Regions from separate parts of the Homo sapiens genome. Here region 1 is linked to region 2. Evidence: promoter capture Hi-C in 16 types of primary human blood cells and fetal thymus (Javierre and others, 2016). All regions are on one chromosome and are shown on one strand. Each heading gives the region's core, a stretch centred on a gene start or on the middle of the fragment in contact. The rest is flanking DNA. Distances are from core to core; before and after follow the strand shown.

Evidence for each region. The method cuts DNA at HindIII sites, captures the fragments that hold promoters and counts their contacts. A CHiCAGO score of 5 or more calls a contact.
Region 1: the fragment with the promoter of LRRCC1 here is called in contact with a fragment that was not itself captured in region 2 in 1 of 17 cell types (activated CD4 T cells); the score reaches 6.1 in activated CD4 T cells.

Annotation. Positions count from the first base shown.
Region 1 is chr8:85,105,765-85,110,139 of GRCh38, forward strand. It overlaps LRRCC1 (leucine rich repeat and coiled-coil centrosomal protein 1), which reads left to right and starts at 1,474. Exons shown (of 19, transcript NM_033402.5): 1 at 1,474-1,635; 2 at 3,831-4,036; 3 at 4,351-4,375. The coding sequence starts at 1,532. It overlaps LOC105375933 (a long non-coding RNA gene), which reads right to left and starts at 2,098. Exons shown (of 3, transcript XR_929117.3): 1 at 1,795-2,098. RefSeq lists an enhancer at 1,586-1,645. The HindIII fragment of the contact is 5,185 bases long and covers 1-3,107 here.
Region 2 is chr8:86,362,307-86,367,134 of GRCh38, forward strand. All of the region lies in intron 1 of WWP1 (WW domain containing E3 ubiquitin protein ligase 1), which reads left to right. Among named protein-coding and RNA genes, the nearest start is that of WWP1-AS1, 20 kb to the left of the region's middle. The HindIII fragment of the contact is 3,145 bases long and covers 216-3,360 here.

The DNA of each region.
Region 1 (4,375 bases), core at 224-2,723, 1.3 Mb before region 2:
ATTGCAGCACAGTAGCAAAGGCATGGAATGAGCCCTGATGCCCATCAATGATAGACTGGATAAAGAAAATGTGGCACATATACACCAACATGCAGCCATAAAAAAGAACAAAATCATGTCCTTTGCAGCAATATGGATGCAGCTGAAGGTCATTATCCTAAGTGAATTAACACAGAAACAGAAAACCAAATACCATATGTTCTCACTTCCAAGTGGCAGCTAAACACTGGATACACATGAACACAAAGATGGGAACAATAGACACTGGGGACTCCAAAAGGGGGAAGGCAAGAGTTGAATAACTACCTATCAAGCGCTATATTTACTATTTGGGTTACAGGATCATTAGAAGCCACAACCTCAGCATCGTGCAATATACTTATGTAACAAACCTGCACATGTACCCCCGAATCTAAAATAAAAAGTGAGATGAAATTTTTTTTAAAAGAAAACCTTTTTGCATTGTATCTGTTTGGGAACCTTTGGCCTCCTGTGCCTGGGTGTCTAAATCTCTTGCTAGACTTGGGAAGTTTTCATATAGTATTTTGTTGAACCATTTTTCCAACTCTATTGTTTTCTCTTTGCCTTCTGAGACTCCAAAATTTTGAATATTTGGTCACTTTATGGTGTCCTACATGTCATGTGGGTTTTGCTCATTTTTTAAAACATCTTTTTTATTTTTGTCTATATGAGTTATTTCAAAAGGAAATAGTCCACTTCAAATGGACTACTGCACCATTTGCTCCGTTTTAAAATATTACTATGCCTTAGGAAGCAATCTAGCCAGGAGGGTTATTTGACCTCACACAGGTATTGCTTTCCCACCTGTAATGCCATTCATCCAGAACTCCCCCTAACCCAGCAAGACTCTATTCAGTCATCAATCACTTCTTTTAGAAAACGTACCCACTACCCATATCACTCTAGAGTTGGTTTCGATGCCCTTGTGTTATTCTTAGCATTCGTCATACTGTATGGCAATTCTGTTTCCTCTATGGGGCTGCGAATGTTTCCAGGAACAAGAATAGGCTTCATCTTTTTCTTCCTCATACAGGGAAGTGACTGACATACAGTAAGGCATCCCACAAATTGTTCAATGAATCAACAGGAGGTGCAATGGCCAGAGGAACAATTTATACGTATGTAAGGCTATGTAAAGGCACGTAAAGCCAAACCGCTGTGAAAACCGCCTTCAGAAGTCAGTCGGCTACTAGGCAAATATACAGAAGCACACAGGACAAATCCATTCATTCTCCAGCTCCTACACGCCCGGGAAGCAGTTTTACTTTACAGCAAGTTCAAGAGTCGCACCGCAGATGCTGTAAAAACGAAAGAAGCCCACAGTTGGGACGAGGATTCCAGTTTTGCGTCACCGTCAAGGCGGGAAAGTTCCCGGCTGTCGGTTGGAGGGTGGGTCCTCGCCCCGCCCCGCCCCCTCGGGCCGCCCTTCCGCGCTTCCGGGAGGCTTGTCCCAAGCTCACGGACCCCTCGCTGGGTGCCGGTTAAGACCCCGCTCCCCGTCGCCAGTGCTATGGAGGCGGCGGCGGCGGTGGTGGCGGCAGAGGCGGAAGTGGAAAACGAAGACGGCGACAGCAGCTGCGGGGATGTATGCTTCATGGACAAAGGCTTGCAGAGGTAAAGGGCGCTCCGCAGCCAGGAGCGACCCGCGCACTCCCCAGAGCCGGGGCCACGAGTGGCTGGCGGCGACACCAGAGTGGAGGCGCGGCACTGCTTTACCAAGACCATAAGTGAACGCAGTCTGGCTTTCGGCCTCCCCGCTCCTCCAAAACTTACCTGCCGAAGTGCCAGGTTGAATGAGCCGTGGATGCCTTCCCGCCCGTGTCTCCTGCCCAGCGTTTCACACGACTCTGCTTAGCCTAGAAACTGCCCCAGGACCTTGTCCTCCACCAGCTTCTGACCACTCTTTCCTTCTGCTGGTTTTCCTTACTTACTGGTGGTTATTCCTTTGCTTGCCGTTTAATTGCTGGTTTTCTCGTGTTCTCTCGTCTTTCCTGTTCTTACCTCTGAAAAAAACCTGCAGGATAGTATCTCTGGCAGCTATGAGCGGGCAGTCGCTGCTGCCTGTTAGTTTTGCCTCAGTTCTCCTTGTCTGCATTCGAAATCATTTGTCCGTTACAGAACATTGCAATACATATATTCATATACTTTTTGAAAGTACTAAACTTACTATATTTAGTTCATCGTTTCCCTCTCTCTTGAAGCCCTGACTTGTGCAAAGCATATGAGGCACTTGGTTCTGTAATACTGTAAAGCAGGTCTCCACCTGCATTTCAGGCTCTTTAGTCTCGACCCGTAACATTTCTCCACTTACACTTTATTTACCTGTACTGAGCTACAGGCAATTCCATAGCAGACTTCTCTGTGCCTTTGCACATGCTGTTCCTTTGTAGCGTGTCCTCTACGCGAACTCTGCTACTGATAATTAAGCATCTTGTTCTGGATTCTGATTTAAACTTTGCCAGATGATCCCAAGAAGATGCTGTTCAAGGGACATTTTACATTTCTATTTAATACTAGCTGCCATTTACTGAATGCTATCTGTTGTGTGCATGTTATATACATTATCAGTAATCCTCACAGCAATTCTACAAGGTAGTAATTTTTCTCATTTACAAGTGATGAATGAGACTCAGAATCTATTGACAATTTGTTCATCTTTATACACTTCATGAAGAATTAAGTTCGGATTCAAACCCATTTTCCGTCTAATTTCACTATGCTTTTTCTATCTCACATTATCTGCACATTATTAATGTCGAGAAACTGAAATGTGTCAGAAAGTAAATGACTGTCATTAAGAGCATGTGTTAACAGCATAAGGTCTGGCACTAAATAAGAACTCAAGTAAATGACACAGCAGGATAAGTGGGAAATGCCCCAGATAGTCACATTTAAAGGTTGCTAGTTTGAAATTTGCAAATGCTTCCCTGCTGTCAGAGTTAGGTTTCCTACAGCTGTAAGATAGCTGCTACTCAACCTACAGCAGATGCCCGTGACATTGTGTGTTCCTGGGTGTATCTCCCATCTAGCAACTCCAAACTGTGTATGCTGTAGTTTGTGTTCCTGGAACTACTATCTTCAGGAGAAGCTTCAGTTATAAATAGTAATTGGAGTGAAGAGATGAGTTCTGTTTAGGGGAGATCCATTAACTTTCAACAAGGGAGGACAGGGACTTTTTCAATAGGAATTGCAATAACATGGTTTGTTTTTGAAAATGCAATAGACTGTGGATTAAATAGCTATTGCACACAAAGAAGAAAATAAAGTTATAATCTCCAGCATGAGATCTGGATTTACATATGCTCTGTTAGCTGCAAGAATTTGGGCAAGCTATTTAATTTCCATAAATTTAGGTATCCTTAAGATACCCACTGCTTAGAGTTATTGTGAGAATTAATTGAGGTAAGAAAACTGAGGCTCAGGTTGTCATTTGCTCAAATCACACAGCAAAACCGTGATAGAATGCAGATTCAAACTGGGATATTAACATTCCAAAGCCTTTACAGTTATTGACTACTATTCAGCACTGCCTTCAATATATGCTGATGACTGCACACAGGAGTTAGAAATGCCCACTGTCACTTGCCTGCCTTGAGCGGTTTCTTGTTTGTATAAATAATCCAAAATACTTGGTTGTGTTGTAAGAAGCACCGTGTTTTGTGAGACATTTCAAAGGTACCACAAATAGGAAAGATTTCATTCTAGAATGAATAGAGCACATATTTAGTATCTACGTGCTGTTTGGTTAATTTTAGTTATTTGGTCATGCTTTTAAAATCTATTTTTATAGTATATATTTTCTTTTATAGCATATCAGAATTATCTTTAGATTCAACTCTTCATGCCGTCAATCTTCATTGCAATAACATCTCCAAGATCGAAGCCATTGATCATATTTGGAATTTACAACATCTAGATCTGTCATCTAATCAAATAAGTAGAATTGAAGGACTAAACACACTGACAAAACTGTGCACATTAAATTTGTCCTGCAATTTGATTACAAAAGTAGAAGGTTTGTAAGTGATTTTCATTTAACACTTAGCGTAAGGAAAATGATTTAGGTCCATTTTTTTCCCCAAAAGAATGGAATAAATATCAGAAACTCTTAAAAATTGAGTCTGAAACTCATTATACAAAATATTTTCTCCAAAAAAGTGTCAATTTTTTAAAAATTCTGTTTTTTCTAAATGCCAATAAAATTGATTTCGCTGTTACCAGACTGGATTTACTTCAGAACAGTCTGAAATAACATTGTAATGCTATATCTCTGTAATTAATTATTTAAATTTTATAAAGGCTTTATTTTATTTTACTTTTTTTTTTTAGGACTTGAAGAACTAATTAATCTGAC
Region 2 (4,828 bases), core at 538-3,037:
ATTAAATTAGAGGCTTATGTCAGTATTTTTCAGGGAGAGAATGGAGGCCACATCAGTGTTTATTGAGTGATTGAATTGTAGTCTTATGGTGCAGACAGGTCCAGGAGAAAGTAGGTGTAAGGTGGCCACTGTTTGGCCTTGGAAGGGGAACAGAAATATTTCAGTAGAGTGGTGAGGGCAGCAACCAAATTGCAAGGGTAGAAGAATCGGTGACAAGCTTAGACATCATTATTTTAGGAAGTGAGTTCATCAAAGGAATTTTTTTCTCCCTTTTTCTTGTTGCTCTTGTTTATTTTAAGTAGTACATGAGCCCCAAATCTGTTTGATGACCAAAAAAGGAGGGTTTAAATGAGGGAGGAGAAGGGAGGGAAGGCATTATCCTAGAAGATGACAGTGTGTAGGTATACCACTTCAGAAAGTAGGAGGGTATATTTAATTTCAAGGACTCAATGCTAGACAAGATCGAGTGTAGTGTCTTTTTACAGAAATTTACATCAGAAATTATTTAAAATAAAAGCTGGGATTAGTATCTCAAAAGCACCTCAGTGTTTAGAATTAACAGATACAAATCAGATAAATATAGCAGGACTATCTGCATTTTTCTATAAATGCATTATTTAACTTTCATTATTGAAAATTGTTTCTCGTATTTAATATTATTTAATATTTTTCTCATGCTTAATAATTTAGCATTTATATAGTACTCGATAATTCATAAAGTGCTTATATAATCTTACCTTGAAGGTATCAAAAAACAAAATTATCACAAATTTAGTTACAGATCAAATTGGCTTTTATTCATGATCCATGAATGGGGCAGTCTCCATTCTACAATATGGAATGAGAACTTCTGCTGGGTAGTGGCAGAACACTGGGTTTTGTGAGATGGGGACGAGGAAACAACAACAAAAAAAGCTGACTGGTTAATGTCAGGTTACTTTTTTGTAAGGATTAAAGCAGAGGGGAATTCCTTATTATGTTGACTCAGTCAGACTGTTACCTGTTTTTAGGGAAAGCTGGTCTGCTGGTCTGCTTTAACTGTCTGCTTCCTTGAACTTTTAGTTTGATTATGTGGCATTTAGCATGGGTGGCTTCATTTTGTCTTGGTCTGGTCTTTTGGGGCCTAGTGCAGGAGCTTAGTCCAAAAACAATGGCTTCCCATAAGTTTTTTTTTAACAAAGGCTACTGAAAGAGGTTAAATTATATGTCTATGGGCCGAGCATGGTGGCTCACTCCTGTAATCCCAGCACTTTGGGAGGCCGAGGTGGGCCGATCACTTGAGGTCAGGAGTTCAAGACCAGCCTGGCCAACATGGTGAAACCCCGTCTCTACGAAAAATAAACAAATTAGCCGGGTGTGGGCACCTGTGGCCCCAGCTACTCAGGAGGCTGAGGCAGGAGAATCACTTGAACCTGGGAGGCAGAGGTTGCAGTGAGCCGAGATCGCACCACTGTACTCAGCCTGGGTGACAGAGTGAGACTCCATCTCAAAAAAAAAAAAAAAAAAAAGAAATTTGTCTGTGGTCTTGCTGATTTTATTTATTAGGTATTTATTCTGTGCCAGGAAGTATTTTTAGTGCTTTGTCACTAAAATGACAAAAGTAGTGTACGTGAAACACATTTTCCTTGAAAGGGTGGTTAGTTAGTTTTGCTTTGGGTATGTAATTGTAACTTTTCTCATTAATTGGGACAAGAACCCTGATAAGAAGAGCACATTAAATTGCTCTGATCATATTTTCTGGTGTGACTGAAGCCTTGCTGTGATGCAGGGCTATTTAGAAGGCAAGGACATAGATGGAATTTAAAGTACTCAAAAATGTACTTGATTAGAATTAATGAGAATGAAAAGAGAATTGAGTTAAATAGCTTCACTAGCTATTGGACTTGAATTTCTGTAAATAAAGTGAATTTTATGTGTTGGTTGCTTTGAGGGAGAGAAATAAATTTGTATTCATTATGTAACTAATAGTTTAGAGTAGGTGGGTCATAGAATAATTTTGAGAACAAGGCTTTCATATAGCTTAGAAATGGTTAAAATTGGCATTAAAAAGGGAATCTACAGAAAAATCAAGATTTGGTGCTTCATACTCAAAACTGTGATATGTATGGTGCATTTTAATGTAAGAATATGTTTTGCTTACATTATACATGTTAATGAGAGGTAAATTTTGAGGTAATGTACTGTAAAGCAGAAGAGTTTTCTGTGTAATTGTTTGAGAGGAATAAATCTTTAAAAATAAAAAATATTTCAGTGCTTTGGGAGTCTGGGGTGGGAGGCTCACTTGAGCTAAGGAGTTCTGGACCAGCCTGGGTAACATAGACCCCATCTCTACAAAAAACAAACAAAGAAATTAACCAGGCATGGTGGTGCGTGCCTGTAGTGTCAACTACTTGAGAGTCTCAGGCAGGAGGATAGCAGGAGTCCAATAGTTAGACCCTACAGTGAGCCATGATTATGCCACTGCACTCTATCCTGGGCGACAAAAGTGAGACCCTGCCTCGAAAGAAAGAAAGAAAGAAAGAAAGAAAGAGAGAGAGAGAGAGAGAGAGAGAAAGAAGAAAGAGAGAAAGAAAGAAAGAGAGAAAATAAAGTAAAATTAAAAATTAAAAATACAATTGAGTAGAAACTCACTTTCTATAAGAAAATGAAGTGGCTGAAAAATAGGAAGAGAGTGCATTTATGATAGGGGAGATGTGAGATATATCTGAAAAAGAAAAGTCAAGAAACAAGGACTAGATTTATGTTACTGGAAAAGAAGATGTAAAAATTAGAGAGTAAGAGAAAACAGAACCAAAAGGCTCAGAAAAAAATCTATGTATTAACGTTAATTAAAAATTAATGTATTAACTCCCTCTGGTTGAAAATCTGAAATTGGGTGATAACGAATAGTAAGAATTGGGTATTCATACTAACTTAGGAAATTGGGCCTTTTGAAGAAAAATACATTTTTCTCATAGAAATACTTCCTAAAGGGCCATATATTGTGCACTGAAAGGAACTTTGAAATTGACTAAAAATACAGAAAGATGGAGGGAAGATAGTCGAAGTTATTAGATTCTGTGGTTAGATAGGCATTTTTAGGCTTCAATACCTTTTAGGTTCCACATTTATTGGGTGTTTAAAATAAACACCCAAATTAAAGTCAGAGGCTAAAAGGTACCTGTAGATTCCATGTTTATTTGTTATTTGTCTGGTAGATATTGCAAGTACTCTTCAAATCACTGGAATGGTACAGCTCAGAAGTGCTATTCTGTTTTACTCTGCAGCACACTTGTAAGTTATCAGGAGAGGGGCATTCTTGTGTTTTGAATATGAATGGATCAATCAGTGATATAGGGAGAGGTCAAGTGTGGACAAGAAAGCTTTAATTTTTTGGCGGGTCACAGTGGTTGATGCCTGTAATCCCAGCACTTTGGGAGGCCCAGGTGGGAGGATCACTTGAGGCCAGAGGTTAAAGACTAGCCTGGGCAAATAGTGAGACCCTGTCTCTATTTATATATAAAAAGCTTTAAAAGAAATCACATAGCTTCTTTCCCAAATAGTTAGATGTATACATTGAGAACACCAAGTTTATTTGAAGGGAGAGAGAAAGGCACAATAAAGACAGAACCTGGGAAGAAAAGCCCAATGGGAGATAGAAGTGAAAAGTGATATTAACGTGGCACTGGTAAAATTGGAAACAATTGTACTTAGCCTGTTTTCTTGACATAACGTATGTGAAAATTTGAAACTATGAAGTGCTTCGCAAATGTAAAGTATTAATGACATTGCCAGTAGGTCCCCTACAGTGAAGGGATGCCGGAGAGTGCTGGAGAGACTGTAGTTCCTGAGTTAAGCAGACCAATTCTAAGGGAAGAGTGCAGTGGTAGAGATTCCTAGTGGGAGATTGTGGGAAGAATAGGACCCATCAAGTTCAGGATGGGGCCATATGAGCTAGTGAATGGAATGGAGATCAGCAAGATACAGGAAGGGTGAGTTGTTGGCATAGATGCAGAGGCTGTGATGGCTTGGGGTATGATGGCATGGGGATGATGGGTGATGGCATGGGCCAGGGAAGAACAGTAGCACTAGTTGGAAATGTCTTTGATTAGGGAGATCAGTGGTGATGATATGGACAGAGAGTCTGTTAAAAGTAAATGATTCGGAGGGCTAAAAGACCCTGGGTATTGAGAAAGCCTCTTACTCTTCCCTCTTCCCTTCTCCTGACATGTAGTTCCAGTGATATGATTTTGAGCCTTAGTGATGAGTAGTTCCTATCAAATTGGTTTTTCCTTTCTGAATTTGCAGGTCACATGGAAATGAAAAATCTAACAGAATTATATTTTTATAACAGGATTCCACTAGAAAAGTTTCTTTGAGATACATCAAGAGAGCTGTCTAGGCAGTTAGAGCCATTACACTGTTCACTAGGATTATCAAAAATCCCAGTTTGGCCAGAACTGAGAGGTTTCCCAGGATGCAAGTTTAAAACCTGATGCTCCTGAGCAAACTGGGACGAGTTGGTCACCCTCCTGTTTACTCTTTCATTTTATAAATTCATTGAAATGACCAGTATTTCTATGTAGAAGTAATATTACTATATTCGTATATATAATTTAATTTAAAATTAAGTCCTCTATTTTGTAGTTTACATTTTAATGAAATATTTATTTTATGCTTTGGAGTTGCTCTATTGAGGGGGGAGACTGCATGGTTCATCCATTTTTATCTTTGCCACATTCATTGAGTTTTAAATTTGGTGCTTGATAAAATAGCTTTGCCTAAGTGCAGGCTTTCTAACCTTTTAGGTTCCACATTTATTGAACTAAACTGCTCTGTTACATATCAT